3 separate regions of the Homo sapiens genome follow, and regions 1 and 2 are each linked to region 3. Evidence: promoter capture Hi-C in 16 types of primary human blood cells and fetal thymus (Javierre and others, 2016). All regions are on one chromosome and are shown on one strand. Each heading gives the region's core, a stretch centred on a gene start or on the middle of the fragment in contact. The rest is flanking DNA. Distances are from core to core; before and after follow the strand shown. Region 1 overlaps RALGAPA2 (Ral GTPase activating protein catalytic subunit alpha 2). Region 2 has its middle 4.1 kb from the start of RALGAPA2. Region 3 holds the start of XRN2 (5'-3' exoribonuclease 2).

What was found. The method cuts DNA at HindIII sites, captures the fragments that hold promoters and counts their contacts. A CHiCAGO score of 5 or more calls a contact.
Region 1: a fragment that was not itself captured here is called in contact with the fragment with the promoter of XRN2 in region 3 in 1 of 17 cell types (activated CD4 T cells); the score reaches 7.2 in activated CD4 T cells.
Region 2: a fragment that was not itself captured here is called in contact with the fragment with the promoter of XRN2 in region 3 in 2 of 17 cell types (activated CD4 T cells and naive CD8 T cells); the score reaches 6.4 in activated CD4 T cells.

The regions. Positions count from the first base shown.
Region 1 is chr20:20,694,167-20,697,389 of GRCh38, reverse strand. All of the region lies in intron 1 of RALGAPA2 (Ral GTPase activating protein catalytic subunit alpha 2), which reads left to right. Among named protein-coding and RNA genes, the nearest start is that of RALGAPA2, 17 kb to the left of the region's middle. The HindIII fragment of the contact is 809 bases long and covers 1,023-1,831 here.
Region 2 is chr20:20,715,116-20,718,417 of GRCh38, reverse strand. No RefSeq gene overlaps it. Among named protein-coding and RNA genes, the nearest start is that of RALGAPA2, 4.1 kb to the right of the region's middle. The HindIII fragment of the contact is 3,801 bases long and covers 51-3,302 here.
Region 3 is chr20:21,301,362-21,304,580 of GRCh38, reverse strand. XRN2 (5'-3' exoribonuclease 2) reads right to left here and starts at 1,250. Exons shown (of 30, transcript NM_012255.5): 1 at 1,108-1,250. The coding sequence starts at 1,182. RefSeq lists an enhancer at 653-702 and a silencer at 1,423-1,552. The HindIII fragment of the contact is 6,284 bases long and covers 1-3,219 here.

The DNA.
Region 1 (3,223 bases), core at 178-2,677, 610 kb after region 3:
ATTATGGGAGTCATATTTGAGGATTATTTTTCTATTTTTTTAATTAAAAAATTTTTTTTGAGATGGAGGTCTCACTCTGTCACCCAGGCTGGAGTGCAGTGGTGTGATCACAGCTCACTGCAGCCTTGCTCTCCCAGGCTCAAGTGAGAGGATTATTTTTCTAGTTTGATGGAAGTAAAGCGTTGCCCTTTTAACAAATGGGATTGACCACTCTTTAAGTCTACATAGCTTAGACTGTTTCCACTGTTTTTAAAGTCATTCCACATATAGTGACTGAGTGTCTGCTATTTGCAGATGAAGCCCTAGCACTTATGGGACTTTCATTCTATTAGGGTGGATGGACAATAAATAACAGGCTGGGTGCAGTGGCTCATGCCTGTAATCCTAGTACTTTGTGAGGCCCAGGCAGGTGGATTGCTTGAGGCCAGGAGTTCAAGACCAACCTGGCCAACACAGTGAGACCCCATCTCTAAAAATCAAGAACAAAAAAACCAAATAATAAATATATGATACAATTTCAGGTAATGATGATAGAAAAATTAAGCTTGATAAGGGTATGTGTATGCTTATTTAGATATTGGGGTGAGGGAAGGCCTCTCTGAAGGGAGGTTTGGACTGAGACCTGGGTTAAGCAAGGGAGCAGCTTTGTGATTATTTTTGGGGAATAGTGTTCTAAGCAGAAGGAACAGTAAGTACCAGGATCTGAGTCATAAATAGACTGGAAATCTCATGGAAGTCAATAGGGGTGGAGGGGTGGAGGATAGAAGGAACTGGGAAAGGAGCGGGGGTGGGAGAGGGGAAATAGGGATAAGATGGTGTGGAACTTTGGCATCCCAGTAAGGACTTGGGATGTTACTCTAAGTAAGATAAGATGGGGCACTCCAGTGAAGCAAAGAGCAGAGGAGTGATCTGAACTGACCTTTAGGTGTAAAGGAATCAATGTGGTTCCCTCATAGAGACTACACTTGCTTGGTTAGCTTGCCAGAGATAGGTTTTCTGACCACAAGCTTTGTAACAAAGCTTTCTTTGGCTTACTTTATAAAAGGTCAGATCTTTGGCCCAAAAACCGACCAGTGACTGGAGGCAGACAAGAGAAGAGGGAAGAGAGAGAAAGAAGTGCCAGAGAAGAGGAATGAGTGGCTGTGGAATCTGTAGCAAGCAAAGGTGTTAAGGAAGATGGGGACAGGCAGCCTGTGTCCCTCCTTACTGCAGCAGCGAGTAGTGATGAGAAGACAGGACGGAAACACTTTGTGGCCAGTGGGACAGGAAAGCTGGAGTACATTGGGCCATGTAATGGGCCCACACAGCGGCCTGAGCTTGTAACAATATGGAGACGGGCTTGCTGTTATCCCCAAATCTACTGACAGGCAGAGAGCAGGCATATTAAAAAGTGCCCTTGATGCTGACAAAAAAAAAATGGAGATCTGTCAGTGGCTGGAGAAGAATGAGACCAGAAAAATGTTGATGGGTCAGTACAACAACAATTTAATATGAATGGTTGCAAAGGCAGCAAACACTGCAGATTGGCTCCACATCAGATATCCACCCAAATTAGGACCCCAGTTGTGCTTTATGTTGGTCTTTTCTCAATGGAAAGACCTGAGGGAATCTTAATCTTTGGCTCAGTGTTAATTGCAAAGATGTAATTCTATGAACCAGTGTTGCTAACTGAACCTTATGTCTTACTCAGAAAGGTGGCTGTGGTGTTTCAAAATATGACAGTATTAGGTTAGCTACATACAGGAGGACAATCATTTGTATTCTTCCAGAGACATCATTTCTGAGCATAAACCAGGTCTTTAGCACTTTTATAGTGTGCTATGAAGAAGCTTCTGTTCTGTCAGTTGACAGTCAGTCAGCGTCAGGTTTAAGCACAACAAGGAAAGGTTGACTCATATGGACTAAGGCTCCCAGGTCTTGGGAATGGGTCTCATTGTGACTGGAAATTTCATCACATCTTTGCATTCAAAAGTGTCAAACATTTGCTCATGCCTACTCAGTGCTAGCTGCTGAATGGCTGGACAGAGAAATGTCTTTCTGCCCAGTTCTATTATTTTTTATCCTTTTCAGTGAATGATGTCTAGAGAAACACAAAAACAGCAAAGCTTCTCCAGATAACTAGGTCATTCTAAGGCATTATGTACCATGTATGTGCTGTTACAGAAGGAGTAATTTAAAAGTTGGATAGAGAAAATTTAAGTCATTTGCTGTTTTTTACAACATTTTAGAATTGGTAAAGATACTCTTTTATATATTGTTTGGGTCTTAAGATTTCTTCAAAGTTGAAAAGTAAGACAGGTTTGGAAAAAAGTATGGCCTGGTGTCATGATTGATGAGTTTTTTGCAGTAAATATTCAGGCTTTGAAAAAAATCCCTTTCTCGAACGCCCTGGAAGTACCCCCCAAAACAGCTTTATAGCTTTTTCTGGTTCTACAATTTTACATACTCATTATAAACATTTGGATAATATGAATATATGAAAAATAATTTAGGTATCAAGGGGTTCTCAAATTCTGCAGTCCCCTGCCAAGCATTACTGAAATCCCGGTGAACGTGCTTTCCAGGCTGGCTCTTGCTTGGGTGCATTCCTTTCTCTCTCTCTTCCCTGCACCTGCCTCGCTTACACACACAAACACGGTTTTACATGAATAGTCATCTGCATGGTCTAACACTGTGTTTTTGACTTAAAGCCTTGGATATTTTTCCACATCAGTAAGTGAAGAATTACATAAGACTTCAATGGCTGTAGTGTGTTCCACTGGACTCCTATAACAAAATTCCCTATCACCCATCCTTCAGGTCATGAGTTTCAGGCCTTCACATGCTGTTAGCAGATTGTGTGCCTGTGAGTGACTGCCCAGTGACCAGAAGGGCCTTCGTTTTCTTGTGTTAGGGACACAGCAGAGATGACAATATTGGAGGCTGCTCACAAGCTGGGATAATATGATGATTTCCTGGAGGTAAAGAGGGTTCCTTGGGGAAAGCCACTTCAGTCTTTACTGAGTTAATTTCACAGAAATGCCACCATTTTGAACTGTCTAGGAGGAAGGTCATTCCACCTGCAAACTGGCTCTGGTGTACTTTTTAAACAAACCAACTTCTGGGTGTACTTTTGTATTTAATAACTATTAAGTTCTGTGACTTGTACCATATCTCTCCTGTGTTCTTTTTGTTTTACAGCAAAATAAAACAAAATAGATTTCCAGGCATGCTTCCCTTAACC
Region 2 (3,302 bases), core at 702-3,201, 590 kb after region 3:
TTGAACAAAGATAATATACATTACCTGAAATCAAGACTTTCAATAAAGCTTAAGACAGAGGGGTAATGGTCTAGGATTAAACAACTGGATCAATGAAACAGAACAGAGAATCCAGAAATAGATACGTACACGGTTGATTGATAACTGACCAATGCTCCAAGTTAATTCAATGTGGGAAAGAAAGTCTTTTTATAGGCCGGGTGCGGTGGCTCACGCCTATAATCCCAGCACTTTGGGAGGCCAAGGCGGATGGATCACGAGGTCAGGAGATCGAGACCATCCTGGCTAACACAGTGAAACTCCGTCTCTACTAAAAAAACAAAAATTAGCCGGGCATGGTGGCCGGCGCCTGTAGTCCCAGCTACTTGGGAGGCTGAGGCAGGAGAATGGCATGAACCCAGGAGGAGGAGCTTGCAGTGAGCCGAGATGTGCCACTGCACTCCAGCCTGGGCTACAGAGCAAGACTCCATCTCAAAAAAAAAAAAAAAAGTCTTTTTATAAATATTGTTGGACAACTGCATATCTGTTTTTTTTCTTTTTCTTTTCTTTTTTTTTTTTTTAGATGAAGTCTTGCTCTGTGGCCCAGGCTGGAGTGCCCTGGCGTGTTCTTGGCTCACTGCAACCTCTGACTCTCAGTTCAAGCAATCCAGCCTCAGCCTCCCAAGTAGCTGGGATTACAGGTGCCTGCCACCACACCCAGCTAACTTTTGTATTTTTAGTAGAGACAGGGTTTCACCATGTTGGCCAGGCTGATCTCGAACTCCTGACCTCAAGTGATCCGTCTGCCTCGGCCTCCCAAAGTGCTGGGGTTACAGGTGTGGGCCACTGCGTCCAGCAAATAGAAAAGAATGTATGGCCTTCTTTTTATTCATTCATTTCATTCATGTATGACATTTGTTTGTTTGTTTTTGTTTAGTTTTTTTTTTTTTTTTTTTTGAGATGGAGTCTCGCTTTGTCACCAGACTGAGTGCAGTGGTGCCATCTCGGCTTACTGCAACCTCCAACTCCCTGGTTCAAACGATTCTCCTGCCTCAGTCTCCCCAGTAGCTGAGATTACAGGCATGCATCACCACGCCCAGCTAATTTTTGCATTTGTAGTAAAGACAGGGTTTCACCATCTTGCCCAGGATAGTCTCAGCCACCTGCCTTGGCCTTCCAAAGTGCTGGGATTACAGGCGTGAGCCACCACGCCTGGCCAACACATGCTGTATTTTTAAATTATGAGTTCAAATGGATATTTGAAGTAAAATCTAGTATTACAGAGTTTTCACATTTTCTTTGATGTGATATTTTTGTATCTCCTTTCTCTTACACTGAAAATCTTGGTTCTTAATAATAATTATTAATTCTTTGCAGATCTTTTTGCCCTTAGAATACATCCCTCTAAGGAGGTACAATCAGAATACTGTTTTCAAAAATCACTTGAAATAATTATTTTCTCTATATAGTTATGCTACCAATTACATATACGGTTGGGTTTATTTTTTCATTTATTTTTGATTTTCAGGTTTGTCTTTTTCTATTTTAATTTTTGAATATGTAAAACATTTATATGGTTCAAAAGTGAAAAAAATATAAAAAGGTATACTCAGAGAGGACCCTGTTTCATTCCTTTCCACCTCATCCTCCATCCCACTTAGGTAGGAATTGATGTTAGCTTTTTATTTATCCTTCCAGTGTTTCTTTTTGAAAAAAAAATTTTTAATATTCTGTTCCTTTTATATTTAACAACGTATCTGGAAAATTATGTCAAGTCAGTACACGCGAAATTTTCCCATTATTTTTAAACAGCTGCATAGTACTCCATAGTGCTACACTGTGTGGATGAACTGGATTAAATTAGCCACTTATAGATGTATGTGTATATAAGTACCTTGTTAGACAATCACAGGGTTCTCTCTGGTATCTGGTCATACTCGTTTTCTAGAGTGGCTGCAACAGATTACCACAAATTGCGTGGCTTAAAACAACAGAAATTTATTTTCTCACGGTTCTGGAATCCTGAAGTCTGAAATCAAGGTGTTGGGCTTCCTCTGGAAGACTCCAAGGGAGAATCCTTTCTTGCCTCTTCCAGTTTCTCTTGGCTATAAGGGTCTTTTCGTTTGTGGCTCCATAACCTCAATCTCTACCTTGGTCTTCATGTGCCCTTCTCCTTTGTTTCTATGTTTTCACTTCTTTTGTTTCTTACAAGCACATTTGTCATTGGATTTAGGGTCTACCCAGATAACTGAGGATCTTATTATATTTGCAAAGATCCTTCTGCCAAATAAAGTCTCAGTCACAGTTTTCAGGGATTAGGACATAGACATATCTTTTTGGGGGGAAGGGTGGGCACTGTTCAACCCACTACATTGGCTATTATAAATAGTGGTGAAAGGAATAAACTTCCATGCATGGTTTTATATTTATTTCTCCATAGAGTTATCCTACCAATTACATATATTGTTAGTTTTATTTTTTCCATTTATTTTTTATTTTCAGGCTTGTCTTTTTCTGTTTCAATTTTTGAATATGGAAAACATTTACATGGTTCAAAAATGAAAAAAATATAAAAAGATATACTCAGAGAGGACACTGAGTCCTTTCCACCTCATCCTCTATCCCACTTAGGTAGGCATTAATGTTAAGGTTTTTTTTTAAATCCTTCCAGTGTTATATATTAGAATATCTGCAGGGTAGATTCCTAGAAGTCAAAATTCTGGCTGGGTGTGGTGGTTCACACCTGTAATCCCAGCATTCTGGGAGGCTGAGGCCCGTGGATCACTTGAGGTCAGGCGTTCAAGAGCAGCCTGGCCAACATGGTGAAACTCTGTCTCTACTAAAAATACAAAAATTAGCCAGGCATGGTGGCACATGCCTGTAATTCCAGCTACTCAGGAGGCTGAGGCAGGAGAATCGCTTGAACCTGATAGGCAGAAGTTGCAGTGAGCTGAAATCACACCACTGCACTCCAGCCTGGGGGACAGAGCAAGACTGTCAAAAAAAAAAAAAAACAACAAAACATGGGAGGCCAAAGCCCATGGATCACCTGAGGTCAGATGTTCAAGACCAGCCTGGCCAACATGACAAAACCCCCTCTCCACTAAAAATACAAAAAAATTAGCCAGTCGTGGTTGCGCACGCCTGTAATCCCGGCTAATCGGGAGGCTGAGGCAGGAGAATCGTTTGGACCTGGCGAGATAGCTCCACTGCACTCCAGCCTGGGTGACAGAGCCAGACTTCATCTCAAAAAAAAAAAAAAAAAAAAGAAAAAGAAAAAAGAAAAAAAGAAATTGAAATTCTGGGTCAAAAGGCAAATATTT
Region 3 (3,219 bases), core at 1-2,500:
GTTAAAGGTGGAGAAATGGGATGAGAAGGGGTAGAGCAAGAACTGTTGCTTTTTGTTTAACCCACGTGCAAGTAAAGTTCAATAAAGTTCGATTAAAATTTTACAAAGGAAACAAGTATTCAATTTAGCAGTTGCTTTTTGAAAAAAACAAGAAATAGTGGGAATGTCACTAAGACAAGGCTTTTGGTTCCTCCTTGGATAGAAGCCAAGAAAGTTAAAAAAAAAAAAAAAAGCAGAAATAAGTTCACAGTGACAGGCAAGCACTGCCTTCAAAAACTAAGGAGTGAGGTACGCGTGATGTGCCTCTGAACGTTTCCAATCCAGAAATTCTAATTAAGAGCACAAAATCGAATCCGCATGGAATGACGAAAACAATAAAAACAAAACTCAATAATGGCCAAAAATCTACTTACGTATTAACTAACAACAAAAATTGTACTGCTCAAGTACATCCAGTAATCTTGAAATTTTCAACAAGCACCCACCCCGTTCAGTAGTCAGGGCACACAGAGAAGGGTAACTTCTCAGAATTCTATAGCGCTCATCCTGGACCTGACATACTGCTTTCAGCGTCCAATCTAACCAGAACAACAAATGGTCCTGAACACTAGGAGAAAACCTTTCCGGCACAATTGGTAAACAACGAAAAGGTCGCCGCCAGGGATTCCTTTACAAGGTTGTCAAAAAGCTGGCCTCCGAATCCGTGCATCCATAACCCGCTAGCTCAGCTGACCTGGCATGCATTGCTCAACAACAGCCTCTGAACCTCTTCCGAGACCCAAAATGCGCGGTCTGGAGAGGAAACAAAGCAGTGGGCGGGGCCTTCCGGTGCCGGGAAAAAGCGAGTAGGGGAGGAGCGACCCTCCTGCGAGTTCGGAACCCTATAGGCCCTTGCCCCGCCGAGGGTCCTGAATTCCTCGCCCCCGGGGTGCTGAATCCCACAGCCCGCGTCCCATCGCGTGTGGGGCTGCGACTGCTCGCGAGGCTGGCAGCAGGGCGCGAGCTCCGGCAAGGCTCCCCGGGGGCAGGCGGCGGAGCCCATGGGCCGCGGCCTAGACGTGCCGGGGGCCCGGGCTCGAGTGTGGCGGCCGCCTGGCGCCTCCTCACCTTCTCTTCCACGCAGTTGACTATGATGGACGGGTACTTGCGGCTGAGCCAGCGGAAGAACGCCGGGACTCCCATAGCGGCACACGGCTGGAGGCGGCGGCCGACCGGCTGACGAGCGTAACCAAAGAGACGGGAGCAGCGGCAGAGGGCACCAGCACTTCCTCCCACGTGCGCGCTGGAGAACGGAAGTGACGTCACGGCGCCGCCGCCGGGGAAGCTGGGAAGGAGGCTTCGCTGGATGAGGGAGCGGCGGAAAAGGGCCTTGCCGGGCTGTTTGTGGGAGGCGGAGTCCGGCGGCGGACCGGGTGGCGAAGGCTGCAGCTCGCCCTCGGTGGTCCCAGCCCCGGAGCGCGAGGCCGAGCGCGTCTGAGTTGCGGGGGCTCACGGGCGACTGCTCTGCCGGGGCTCCGCCGGGATCTCCCAGCCCCAGCCCTCCGGCTCCCTGGGCACAGAATCGCTGCGCTCTGCATGCCCGGGAGGAGGTCTCCCTTGCCCGTTTGGTCACCTCTTGTTTGGAAGAAAATGTCTTTTTTTGCCTCTATGCTCACCCGTCTCAATCTAGGGTAGAATCGAAGCATCCAAACTTACTCGTTACTTCCATTTCCTGGTTTCTCCTAGTTTTGTGCTGCAGTACGTACCTGGACTATCAAAAGGAGCATTTTAAAGCATTTTACAGTAATAATGGCTGCTTTGCACCAATAATTTGATTGTTATGCAAATAAATAATTATGATAGTTACCGAATGGAATCTAGCCGGTATTTAGCATCCAATACAATCTTCCAGCTACAATTACGGGTATAAAATAGTTGCTAATATGATTTTCCAGCATTTACTGAGCCTTTACAGTGTACCAAGACATTGACTAAGGGATTGTCCTATGTAATCTTCACTTGAACCTTGTGAGGGTACTGTTAGCACCCTCGTGTAAATGATAAGAAAGCCAAGTTACAGAGGAGTTAAGTCACTTATGCACATAGCTTCTGTTTCAGTTCAAGCAAAGGTCATTTTTAATCCATCCTTGTTCTAACACGATACTTTTATCTTTTGTTTTCTGGTGGTCCCAAACGAATTTTTTCCATATGAAAGGAGAGGTCTGGAAGAGGAGGTATATTTGTCCGTTTGCTCAAGCCTGGAAGTCTCCCTGAATCCCCTCTTGGTTTGACACACATCACACACGATGCTAAATGCTCACCTCATGAGGCCTCTGTGAAAGTATTTCGCCGAGTTACCTCACAGGCAGTATTTATTGCCCCCTCCTCTGTGGTCTGATGACTACTTTGTTTAAACTACTAGTGTGGAAATTAGAGAAATAGTCATCCCGTGTTTTACTTAAGGATAGCCAAAACTATTCCAAAGTATTATGTCTATGGTGAAATTCCTCCTTTTACCTGGAAGCAGCCCCTCTGGTTTCCCTGGGAGGTGCTGTTATAGGAACATGTACACCATAGGCAGTTCAGGGATAGACAGCTGGCCAAGTTGAGCCATTTAGAATCCTTAACCAGCATTTTGGCGGGTTGGGAGGGTTTATTGTTTTGTTTTTGTTTTTTCAGACGGAGTCTCAGTCATCCAGGCTGGAGTGCAGTGGCAAGATCCAGGCTCACTGCAACCTCCACCTCCCGGGTTCAAGCGATTCTCCTGCCTCAGCCTCCCGAGTAGCTGGGATTAGAGGCGCCTGCCATGACACCCCGCTGATTTTTGTGTTTTTAGTTGAGACAGGGTTTCACCATGTTGGCCAGGCTGGTCTCGAACTCCTAACCTCAGGTGATCTGCCCACCTCGGCCTTCCAGAGTGCTGGGATTACAGGTGTGAGCCACTGCACCCAGCCTTACCAGCATTTTTGAGCTTTGAACCATAAGAAATTTAAGACTGCATCTTTCCAGTGCGTGAACGCTAAAAGATAAGAATTGGGACTTGTTGCCAGTAGGCAATGAGAGAAGCAGGGTTAATTCCCTGGTTCCAGTTAAATCCCTCTCTTCCTGCAGTTTGATTAAGTCTGTCCTTTGATTCTGTGAGCCAAATTTTTTTTTTTTTTTTTTTTTAAGACAGAGTCTCACTCTGTTGCCAGGCTGGAGTGCAGTGGCACCATCTCGGTTCACTGCAACCTCCACCTC